Regions from separate parts of the Homo sapiens genome. Here all the other regions are linked to region 3. The links are contacts of gene promoters, found by promoter capture Hi-C in human tissues and cell types (Jung and others, 2019). All regions are on one chromosome and are shown on one strand. The core of a region is centred on a gene start or on the middle of the fragment in contact, and the rest is flanking DNA. Distances in the headings are between cores, read along the strand shown.

Region 1 (3,955 bases), core at 939-3,438, 170 kb before region 3:
CCAATCTTTCGTTAAAGGACATTTGGGTTGTTTCCAGTTAAGGACTATTGTGAATAAAAATGTGTATCTGTTGGGAGACATGTATTCATTTCTGTTGGAAATATCCTAGAAATTGCTGGATTGTAGGGTAGGTACTGCCAAAGAATTTTCCAAAGTGGTTTCTGTGAAATGGATATCCACACATCTAATGTATTTAAGTTCCAGTTTCTCCATATGCTAGCTCCTCTCTTCTATCCAAATTTTAATTCTTGTTTTTTAAGTTGTGGTCATTCTAGTAAATTTCTACACAGACTCTTTCAAAGTCGTCATTACCAAACTCCTATTAACCACTTCTTTGGATTTCACTCATTGTTTAACTTATTTCATTATGTCCTTTGTCTAACTACTCTTATGTCCCATTTCAAGCTAACTGTATTTTCTCCATAATCATCTTTCTTGAACTGTATTCCTTATTTAACTACAAACTACTTCTTTATCCAAACTCATTCCTGTGCTGCATCAGATGACAAATGAGTGTCATAATTCCCATGAGACTCTGGCTCTATTTCATTCTTCCACTCTATAAATACAGTGTTTTAACCCCAGATTCAGGCCTCTGCTCTGGCTTTTTTCATGTCAATTGTCACCTAAATGAAAGTACATATCCACTACCATCCTCTCTCTCAGAAGTGTCAATCTTCTAATTCCATTTGCTGTTCGACAGCTACAGCAATAGAGTCTACCATCACCTCAAATTCATCATGTAGAAAAGAAAAGTACCACTTTCTCTAGAAACTAGATCCCCTCTAGTCCAAATACCATGATGTACACAGTCATTCAATCTGAAGACCTGAGTCATTCATTTTTACTCTTATTTCTCCCCTACATGCAGTAAATGAATAAATTCTCTTGATTCTTTATCAAATTTTATTTCCTTTATCATCTAAATATATAGTTATTTCATTAAAATAGAACATTTTTAATTATAATTGTATTCATTTTCTACCATCCACAAATGAACCCATTATCACTTGTCAAATTTCACACATGCTTGCTAATTTCTAATTTATTGATTGTGGTTCTCAGACTATCATCAATACCACCACCATTAACAAAGCATATCATCATGCCATATTTTTGAATAAATATATTCTCCCTTTTGTGTGTGAAAAATAGTACGTTGTTTTATTATTTCTATTTGGAAGTTGAGAAAAAATAAGCTTTAGATGCACAGTTATTAATTAGAGCCAAGGAGATAAACAGGCATCAAGAGTAAGGTAAATGGCTAGACCAGCAAAGCAGCTAATTACAATGGAAAACTCTAATAATCATTTTCCTCTTTCCTGAATCGATTTCAACTTTTTCAAAATAAATAATATTTATAATCATAGACAATAGATGATGGATAAATGGCTAGACCAGGAAAGCAGCTAATTACAATGGAAAACTCTAATAATCACTTTCTTCTTCCTGAATCTATTTCAACTTTTTCAAAATAAACAATATTTATAATCCTAGACAGTAGATAATGGACTAGCAATCTAAACATTACTAAAAAAAAGGAAAAATAAATTTACAGAAGTCAAAGCTCAATTAAGCAGAAACCCAAAATGAGTAATTTATGAGAGAAAACTTCTGACAGATTTTTTTCTCTCAATATAATCTCTAAAAGACAGATATTCTATAAAACATAAATAGAATCTAAATTGTAGTATTCCAGCTTTTAGAAAGGAAGAATTCTGACAGCAAGAGTATTGGAATATATGACAAAAATATAAAATAGCCTTTATTGAGGAACTTTTGTACTATAGGTAGTCCAGTGGCGGCATCAGTCATCCAATAGTAATAATAGTTGTAGTCATGTGTTCAACACCCTCTAATATGCCAGTGAGAAGCTGGAAAAAATTACTGTAGTGGCTTAAACATATGTCTACAAATTTGATACATCTTCCTTCAAGTGGTCGGCTGGATACAGCAACTCACTTCTCACAAATAGCATAAAGTAGAAAGGATAGCACGCAACGTAAGAAACTAGGTTGTAAAAGGTAATGTGAATCCCTCCTTGTACTTTCTTGAATTGCTCACTGTTGGGGAAGTTAGCTACCATGGTTAGGTGTTGTGGAAAGAAGCCCAAGTGGCAAGGAACTGAGGTCTCCTGCCAATAGCCATGTATACAAACCACCTTAGAAGTGGATCTTCTGAAAACAAAAGAATAAAGGTACTACTAAGAAAATTCAAAAATCAGCGTAATATCCTAGTACTTCTTTTGGTAAACTTATTTCTGAATGTTTCCGTTTGTTGCTATTATAAATAACATTGTTTTCTTCATTTCAAAAAAAATGTGCACAGTGAAAATTTAAAAAGTAGATCTTGCAGCACCAGGTAAGCCATCAGAGAAGCACCACCTAAGAAAGCCTGAGAAAGACTCATTCAGGTAAGCCACTCCTAATTTCCTGACCCATGGAAACTATGAGATCAGAAATATTTGTTATTTTAAGCCACTTTATTTTGAGGTAATTCATTATATGTAGCAATAAGGAAACGTACCAATAAAGAACTAATACTACTAACTAATAAACAACTTTGATATTATGTTCTAAATAAAATCACAAAATAAAGTTAAATAAATAAAATAAAAGTGAGATGCCATTTGTTATCTACCAACTTCGTTGCCTAAAAAATAATATCCAATATTGAAGAGGAGATAGAAACACACTATCATAAACTGCTAAACAATTCCAGATGGATAATCTGGCAAGCTCTATTCATAGTTTTTAAATAATAATAATATACCTTTTGATATAGCTCAACTTTGAGAATTTATGCTAAGGAAATAAGAAATTTGTACATCTATTTCTATATAAAAATGTTTACAGGATTGATATTTGTGGTATTAAAAACTGGAGTTCTTCTAAATTAGTCATAGGTACTGGCATATACATACGATGTTGCCATTATGATTCTATTTTATATATTATTTATTATGTATTATTGTATATCTTCTCTATAATATAATATTTTCTATTTTATTATTATTTTTAGAAACAGGATCTTGCTATGTTGCCTGGGCTGTAGCTATTCACAGATGTGATCATAGCACACTGAGGCCTTGAACTCCTGGCCTCAAGTGATCCTCCTGCTTCAGCTACCCAAGTAGCTTTGACCACAGGAGCACCCTACCATGCCTGGATTATTTTATTTCATTTTTATATTTGATGAAATAGGAAAACATTCTGAATATATTAATTGCAAATGAAGGGTATAATTCCAATTTAATAAAAGTTGTGTGCGTATGCATGCATAAGTGTGCAGATGTATTTGCGCCTGCATACAGGTGCACGTGATTATGTAAGAATAGAAAGAAGAATGAAAATAAAAGCTTCTCGATGTTAATAATATTTATACCTGGGTGTAGAATTAAGAATATGCTTCATTTTCTACTTTGCACTTACCCATATTATCAGTTTCTTAACAATGAGAATGTAATTTTTCTACTGAAGAAAATAATCCCAGTCATTGTAACACACTGTGACTGCTGTTCTAGAAGACCATATGTCATTTGACCCCTGGCTACCCCTCTGAACTCTCCTTATATACTCTCGCACTTGCTCATTAAGCTCCAACCACAGTGACCCTCCTGATCTTGGAACTCAAACAGCTCCCTCTGTCACAGAGCCTGCGCACTAACCCCTCCTTTTCCTAGAATGGCATTTTCACATCTTCTCATGGCTCCTCTCACGACTGTATCTTCCTCTCCAGTCACTGAGAGTATCTTTTGACCACCAAATTCAAAGCAGCCTGCCTTGGCAATACATTAAAAACTATGTTTCCCAGATTTCCAATCTTCTCAGTACTTTTATACTATAAAAAGTCTATTATTTTCTTTATTGCATATTTACTTTAATTTGTAAACATAAAATTACCATCTGGAAACTTGCCTGTCTTGGTTACTACTGTATCCCTAGTTCCTAGAAAT
Region 2 (4,043 bases), core at 1,030-3,529, 150 kb before region 3:
GTGAGGATACTGGGTTAACATGTAGATTCTGATACCCAAAGGACTATAAATCATGCTGCTATAAAGACACATGAACACGTATGTTTATTGCGGCACTATTCACAATAGCAAAGACTTGGAACCAACCCAAATGTCCAACAATGATAGACTGGATTAAGAAAATGTGGCACATATACACCATGGAATACTATGCAGCCATAAAAAATGATGAGTTCATGTCCTTTGTAGGGACATGGATGAAATTGGAAATCATCATTCTCAGTAAACTATCGCAAGGACAAAAAACCAAACACCTCATGTTCTCACTCATAGATGGGAATTGAACAATGAGAACACATGGACACAGGAAGGGGAACATCACACTCTGGGGACTGTTGCGGGGTGGGGGAAGGGGGGAGGGATAGCATTAGGAGATATACCTAATGCTGAATGACGAGTTAATGGGTGCAGCACACCAGCATGGCACATGTATACATATATAACTAACCTGCACATTGTGCACACGTACCCTAAAACTTAAAGTATAATAATAATTAAAAAAAAAAACATGTAGATTCTGAAGAGGAAAAACTATTTCTGTAAGTGACCCCTTTAAAATGGGATTAACATCTCAGAGCATTTCTGACATCCGAATCAGTTAGCTCAATGTGTCTGCTAAAATTTTGCAGCCTTGGGCACTATAGCTGTTACAAGTAAGTGAAGCTTTATGCTACTGCAATTAATTAGCAGAAAGACACCTAATTATAAACCTCTTAGAATAGCAGGAAGGATTTTAGAGAAATTTAGACCCAAGATGCTTAATTGCACATTTTATTTAAACAAGTTGTATGTCTCCTTTTAAAGCTATCTGTTAAACTCCTATTCACTTCAGTATGGACTGATTTAAAATGCAGCTATAGCATTCCCTGACCCCATGCCATCCCACAACAAAACAGAGTTAATCATTCTCTCCTATGTATTACCACTGTATGTGGACATTCTTTATGATTTCATTTGTTATATAGTATTCTGATTAATTGCATATGTAGGTGAATATGAATTTTTGCCACTCCAACCTGTAGGAGCCTAGCAAATAGTTGGCATTCAATAAATAAGAATCTATGAGATTTAAAATTAAAAGGATTTATGCATGTAGTTGGTGACTGCCTATGTATCTGCAAAAATCATTTTAAATGTCAGGGTTTAGGATACTATTATTTCTCATTAGTAAAAACTCATATTGGCGGGGAGTGGTGGCTTATGCCTGTAATCTCAGCATTATGGGAGGCGGAGGTGGGAAGATCGCTTAAGTCCAGGAGTTGGAGACCAGCCAGGGAAACATAGTGAGGCTCTGTGTCTACCAAAAAAAAAAAAAAAAAAAAAAAAATTAGCCAGGTATGGTGGCACACATCTATAGCCCCAGCTAATCAGGTGGCTGAGGCAGGTGAATGAATCCCTTGAGCCCAGGAGGCTGAGGCTGCAGTGAGCAAGGTCGTGCCACTGCACTCCAGCCTGAGCAACAGAGACCCTGTCTCAAAAAATAAACAAATAGAAAAAACTCACATTAAAATGTATTACCCTATTTAATAGTATAACAACAATCTTGATCATTGATCTGTAACATGAATGTCTCCTGGCAGCTAATACTAAGATACCACACCTGTTAATACTTCCTTTGTGGGGGGAGATGTTGAATGGCAAGCTATCACTTGTTTTCAGTTGGTAACTTCACATAATTAGAAGTGTGTTTCTTCTAATATTACCAATGCTGTTGCACAATAGAAAGAATGTATACAATTTGTAGACTAGCAGAGTCAACATTCCTTTTCAAAAAAAATTTTTGTAAAAAAGTCATTGTAATTATAGAATAAAAAGGGTTTCTATTAAACAAATGAACAAACAGAATTCTAGGATACAATGGCTACGTTTTTATTCCTGAGATCACCTTTAGCCTTTTTAATGTAGTTGTAGTCTTTACCAATATCTGTGCCTTATAACATTGGCCAGCTTATTCTATATAGCACATTTTCTTGGGAATGTATTATATTTCAGATGCTGGAGGCTGTTAATAAAGATTTTACTATAAAACAAAACGACTAATAAGCAATCTTAATAAATAATTATGTATTCATCCACCTTCATAAACAAGAAACAACCTTAAGTTTCCTCAATTATTTTCTTGTAATACGGATATATAAGAAGCAGAATTTATTGCCAAGGGGTGGTTTTAATTAGAATCAAGTAGAGTAAAATTGAAATTTTAATAATTTTTTAAAAACCTTTCCTCATTAAATATATTAAAACAAAATTATTATGAAATACATCACTAACTAGAAAATGTTATTCAAAAACTCTTCAATACAAAAATGTTTGCAGCTATTGTAGAATTATACACACCGACTGGTAATTATTGAGTAATATTTAGTATGAATTTTTAAAATGCTCCAGTAGCAAATAATGACTCTAAAAACTAGTATCATGTAAATGTTTTCCACCAATAGGGAATCCCAGGGCAATGCAGACATTCCCATCTACCACCCAGTTCTTTGATTTCTGAGTGTACTAGTATATATAAAAGGACTAGAACTGTAACTGCCACTAAAAGATAACATTACAGAGTGGCATTATGAAGTCATCTGAGATTCCACTGTCTTCTTTCTTCTTCTAAGCTTATATATTTCAGAAACATAATCCAGGTTTTCCATTCTTTTCTATAATATTGTTAACATCTGAATGACCGTATTTACTCTCTTTACTTAAAATTGGTGACCAGAACTTATGAATAAGTTTCCTTTCTTTACTTTAAATTTCATATTTATAGTTCAATCATACTATGAAATTTATTTTTAAAAAGAGTGCAAATGTCTTTTTTTTTTTTTTAAGAGACAAGGGTCTCACTATGTTGCCCATGCTGGAAAGCAATGGCTTTTCACAGGCACACTTCAGCCTCTAACTCCTAGGCTTGAGTGTTCTGAGTAGCAGGGGCTATAGGCGCATGCTACCACACCCAGCTCCAAATGTCTAATGAGGCAAGTTTATGTACATATAATTCAATTAATAAGTAAAAATAGGCCGGGCACAGTGGCTCACGCCTATAATCTCAGCACTTTGGGAGGCCGAGGTGGGCGGATCACCTGCGGTCAGGAGTTCAAGACCAGCCTGGCCAATATGGTGAAACCCCGTCTCTACTAAAAGTACACAAATTGGCCGGGCGTGGTGGCGGGTGCATGTAATCCCAGCTACTCGGGAGACTGAGGCAGGAGAATCCTTTGAACCGGGGAGGCAGAGGCTGCAGTGAGCTGAGATCACGCCATTGCACCCAGCCTGGGTGAAAAGAGCGAGACTCTGTCAAAAAAAAAAAAAAAAAGTAAAAATAATAGTAAATACCAAGTCATTTTTTACTCACCTGGTTAATTGGGAAAAAAAAATTCTCTGCTTATCATACAAACATGTTGTTAACATTAAAGACATACTATGTACAAAATGAAAGTTGATCATATACCAAATTATTCTCAGTAGGTTTTTTTGTTTGTTTTGGGGGGTTTTAGGGAGAAAGTAGGTTAAAGTGGAAACTTTTACTTTCTCATTATTGTTTTGGGTATTTTGCAATCAGCATTTTCTCAGAAAGAACAGTGAAGATAGTTTTACTTAAAAAGTTAGATGAGAATGGCTGGGTGCGGTGGCTCACGTCTGTAATCCCAGCACTTTGGGAGGCAGGAGTGGGCAGATCACTTGAGGTCAGGAGTTCGAGACCAGCCTGGCCAACATGGTGAAACCCCATCTCTACTAAAAATACAAAAATTAGCCAGGCGTGGTGGTAGGCACCTGTAGTCCCAGCTACTGGGGAAGCTGAGGCACAAGATCACTTGAACCTGGGAGGCGGAGGTTACACTGAGCTGAGATCATGTCACTGCACTCCAGCCTAGGCAACAGAGCAAGACTCTATCTCAAAAAAAAAAAAAAAAGTTAGATGAGAGTAGAATGCATAATTTCAAAGTGTCTTCACTTCACTATCACATCTTTCAAACTTCAGTTTTATTATATGAGTAGCAATCAGATAAACA
Region 3 (4,299 bases), core at 1,170-3,669:
AAACCTTTTATTAAGTATTTCATTCATTAAATAATCAATGTCTTATATAATTTGAAAATATCTTGAATTTTCATCGTTAAAAAAAATTTCAGATCCTTCCAAAGAAAAGAAATTGTGATGTCCTACTTCCCATTTTAACCCACTATATATACTCTTTCTTGTGTCTAGTAAATTTCTGACCATGAAAATTGATTTACTTATAATTTTAGGAAAGCATTATTGCAGATGTTCTTCTTAACAATAAGGATTTTTACATTAATATTTTACCACAGTATGTTGAGGAATAAAAGGTTGTATTTTGTTGTAGTTTTCCCCAATGGTATGATGATGTATCCCCTCCCATGATAAAAATATTGATAAATTGTCAGTTAAAAACAACACTGTAAAAATGAGTAATCGGAACACATTTAGGAAGTGATTGTTTTTTAAAGAGCCACTTATTTATTTGACACAGAATGCAAGCGACTCATTTGAGTTCTCACTTTACAGGCCAAGCAACAAACAGACTTAAAAAATTAAATGGAAGTGTGATGCCTTAATAAGAGTAAATAATTCTGAAGCATCCTTAGGGTGATTCTTACTCTTTTTATGTTTAAAAATATCTGACTGGAACATCCTGCCAATTAAACGAAGATCTCCAGATGGCATTTACCCTTTTGCTTCATAACAAAAAGGATCTGCAATCAGTTTTATGGAAGATTATCTAAAGAGGAACATTACTGTAACTCAATGACAACAAAAATTAGACACTCCCCTTCTCCGGGATAGAATGTGCATCCTCCAGATTCTTGCACTGACACCTAAGGTAATAAATACTTAAAACTGAATCTTAAATAATAGCCGCAGGATTTCAACCGCTAAAGATTCACTGTTACTTTCCACCAAAAACTCCTGTATTCAGCACTCAGCCAACAAAGGACAGCAAGTAATTCCCAGCAGCATAAATACCGGGAAAGCTACCTTGGGCTTTGTTTTTGTTATGTAAAATGCATTAAAGTGACTCATCCACTTAAGATTACCTACCTTTAGAAGCTTTAAAGAAGCTCCAAGAACCAAAATAAATGCTTTCCCAGAATGCCGGATAGGCTATTCGGTGCATTAAAAAATATGTATATATTTATATGTGCCATTGAGTTTGATTCTATTTTGCTAAGAAAGGAGAGAATTATTATTTTTCATTCCCTTCCTGTGGTGTGACTATAGCTACCTATAAGCCCTCTATTTCCAGAACAGCAGCGAGGTTTTTAAAAGTTATTTTAGAAATGGTAAAAATAAAAGAAAATTTGTAGGAGACTGGAAATAGTCCCTCCTTCAAAGAATAGGCTCTATTCATTTGAAGAACAGGGACCGCGTGTCTGCCGACACTTAGATGTTTCAAATAATGGGTTGGGGAGGTTGGATCGCGTGGTCCCAGTACCTGCGAGCCCCCTGCGTGGACAGCACGCTCGGCCGCGGGGAGCCAGCACGCGTCTAATCGGAAGGCTGTCAAGTGCATCCAGTAACGTGGGATAAAACGAGTTTGGGCACTACAGCAATTAAAGAGCATCTCCGAGGCCAAGTGCGGGGGAAGTCCACGCTACCTCGGCAAGCCTGAAATTACCTGTTTGTAAATTACCCAACCAAAACATAACTTTTTATTGAACTGGGTTGAATCAGAGCGGGTGAGCTGGCTGGAAACTTTTTTCCCCAGTACGGCTGCACTCTGAAGTCTAGAGAATCCCGTTAGAGACGGGCTGAGACGCCGCGAGTCGTCGGCGGGCGCTTCCCGGGACAGTCGGCCCCCAGTGCCCGGCCCCGTGGAGGCGCCCGAGACGCCGGTTCGGGACGCATTCCAGCGGCGAGCGGCGCGCACCGCCTGCCCGGCGTCTCCGCATCCGAGCCTGGCTCCCCGGCCGCTCGCTCCCCACCCCCACGGGCGGAAAAGCCCCGCGACTCGGGAACCGACCCCCACCCCCAACTCCCGCGGCGCCCCTCGGCCGGCGCTCCCTGCCCGGCCCGCCGACTTACGTGACGGCCGAAGGGAACGGCTCCTCCGACGAGGGGCCGATGAGCAAAGATTGGAAAAGTGTCAGAGTCAAGGCCAGCAGGCAGCCAGCAGCCATCTTCGCGATCGAAGATCAATGCCCCCTCCCTGCCCAAGCGGGGGAAGGAGCGGCGCTGGAAACCGCGGGCGGAGGAAGAGCAGCACACGCCGCCGGGACCGCGGGCGTCTGGAGGGCTGGCTGCGCCCGGGGCCCGAGGCGCGGAGCCGCGCGGGGGACGGCAAGGGCGGGAGCGGACGCCGAGGAAGGGGCGGTGGCGGGCGGACCCACTAGCGTGCGTCGGCTGCTCCGCGCCGCGGCCGCCTTGCCTCCGCCGCCATCAAGGGCGACTTTGGAAACAGACCTCGGCGAGCCCGCCGGCGCTCGCGCGCTCTCGCTCTCCCTCTCGGTTTCCTCCCTGATTTATTCCCCCGATTGCCGAGGCGAAGGCGGAGGCGGGGGCGGGGGCGGAGGAGGGGTGACGGCGCTGGAGGGTGGGGGTGGCTGCAGGAATCGGGGAATGGCAGGCAGAGAGACTTGTGGAAGCGAGAGGCTCCGTCTGGCTTCTTAGGCAAGTCAGAGGGAGGCGGCTGGGGGTGGGCAGCGGGAGGGCTGGGCGTCAGAGCAGTCGGGCGGAGACGGGCCGGGAGCAGCCCTCCATACAAGGCAGCCAGGAACTCCCAAAGTCGGCGCCGGCTCGCTCCCGCCGCCCGGCGTGCGCAGGCGGAGCGGACCAGCCCCGCGGGGCTCCCGGGGGACGGCCAGCCGCCCAGCGGGCATCCACAGGCTGCAGAGGCTCCAACCCAGGACTTGGCTCGCGTCTTCGGGGGTTATTTTTGCACATGCAGGCAGCGTTCCCCCCCAGCCCTACTCCCAGGCGCAGAATCCAGTGCCTGCCTGGGAATCGTGAAGTGATTTGACAACAAATGTAGGAGGGGTTTGTATTGCATTTTAAAGCACCACTGTTGACTCTCTACCAGGTGGCACTATATGCCCGCGTGTGCCATAGGTTAGAGCCTCTGCCGGGGCTGGGTGCCCTTTGTGCCAGCGGTCCCACGCCCAGGTACTGCTCGGCTCACCTGGCGAGGACAGAGCCTCAGGGACCGGGCTGTGGACGGACAGAGAAGTACTGACGCTGTAAAATCTTCCCAGCCCTGTGGTTCCATTGGACAGAGGGGTGGAGGGACGAATTCTGCATCTAGGGAGGACAGTAGTAAGAGAAGCGCTTTGCAGCATCCCAGTTGGGACTACCTCCAAAAGGGTCCTAACGCCCTGCTCTGGCCACTGGCCTGCCCTGCCTGACAAGGTTACCGCAGGGTGAGCTCACTTTTGTCAATGCGAAGGCATGAAAAGGGTAAGCAGCAGGAACAGGTGGCACTCTGAGAAATGCGCCTGAAATGTAGAGGAGGAATTAAGGGAGGGGGAGAGAGCTAGGGAGTAGCAATGCCGGACTGGTTTTATCTCCAGACTCAGAGGAAGCAGTGGCGGGCTTTCTCCTTGAAAAGACAGGGTCTGCGACTAGGCCTCTCCCGCCCAACACAGGCCTCCTACAAGAGGGCCCTGGTGGGCCAAAGATAGAAATATATTCTTGCACACCTTAAATTCTTAAGCTCCCTCTAGTAGTGTATGAGAATACTTTTGACATGACGTGCAGAGAATACAATTTGTGATGACTATCCTGCATATGCAAAAATTCTGTAAGTATCGGGGTGGCTGTCAGATTTTTAATTAGCCCGTTCTTATTTTTAGGAGATGCTTCTGAAAGAAAAAGACCCTTATTAATTCGAAATGAATTTTCCAGCTCTCTGAAGGCAATCTCCCAAAACAAAGACTAATAATAATACTACTACTATTAATTACTGGCCAAATTTTAAGAGCGTGTGTGATTTTATGATGCTTAGCCTGGTGAATTTATTTTTCCTTCCCACTTATTTCTCCTTTTTTTAATGCCTTATTTGTTTTCTTTATGTTCTTCGCATCTCTGTCTTGCTCTTTGTTTCTTTCTACTCTGAGTGGCCTCACAAAAGGCACCCCACCGTGACTTAACTTAGTTTGTTTTATGCTAGGCATGGATACTGTGGCAGCAGGAGCTGCGCAAATGAGGGATGAAGTGGGATGTAATGGGATTGAGAACTACAGCTCAGGAGGGATATTTTATATAACTGAAGATAGCATTCCACTCCAAAATTAGATAAGTAAATAGTCAAATCCATCATTTCTTCCATTTTTAATAATTCAAAAGCAGACTTTCTTCCCCAGCATGAGGACTAAGAAGAGC

What was found. The method cuts DNA at HindIII sites, captures the fragments that hold promoters and counts their contacts. A contact is called where the count stands out against the background at its distance.
Region 1: a contact is called between a fragment that was not itself captured here and the fragment with the promoter of CACNA2D1 in region 3, in 3 of the 25 tissues and cell types used here (dorsolateral prefrontal cortex, heart left ventricle and mesendoderm cells).
Region 2: a fragment that was not itself captured here is called in contact with the fragment with the promoter of CACNA2D1 in region 3 in 2 of the 25 tissues and cell types used here (H1 embryonic stem cells and spleen).

What each region holds. Positions count from the first base shown.
Region 1 is chr7:82,270,483-82,274,437 of GRCh38, forward strand. All of the region lies in intron 3 of CACNA2D1 (calcium voltage-gated channel auxiliary subunit alpha2delta 1), which reads right to left. Among named protein-coding and RNA genes, the nearest start is that of CACNA2D1, 170 kb to the right of the region's middle. The HindIII fragment of the contact is 4,796 bases long and covers 1-3,955 here.
Region 2 is chr7:82,295,732-82,299,774 of GRCh38, forward strand. The region is part of intron 3 of CACNA2D1 (calcium voltage-gated channel auxiliary subunit alpha2delta 1); the gene reads right to left. Among named protein-coding and RNA genes, the nearest start is that of CACNA2D1, 150 kb to the right of the region's middle. The HindIII fragment of the contact is 6,244 bases long and covers 1-4,043 here.
Region 3 is chr7:82,441,358-82,445,656 of GRCh38, forward strand. It overlaps CACNA2D1 (calcium voltage-gated channel auxiliary subunit alpha2delta 1), which reads right to left and starts at 2,420. Exons shown (of 39, transcript NM_000722.4): 1 at 2,008-2,420. The coding sequence starts at 2,102. RefSeq lists an enhancer at 862-1,425. The HindIII fragment of the contact is 9,545 bases long and covers 1-4,299 here.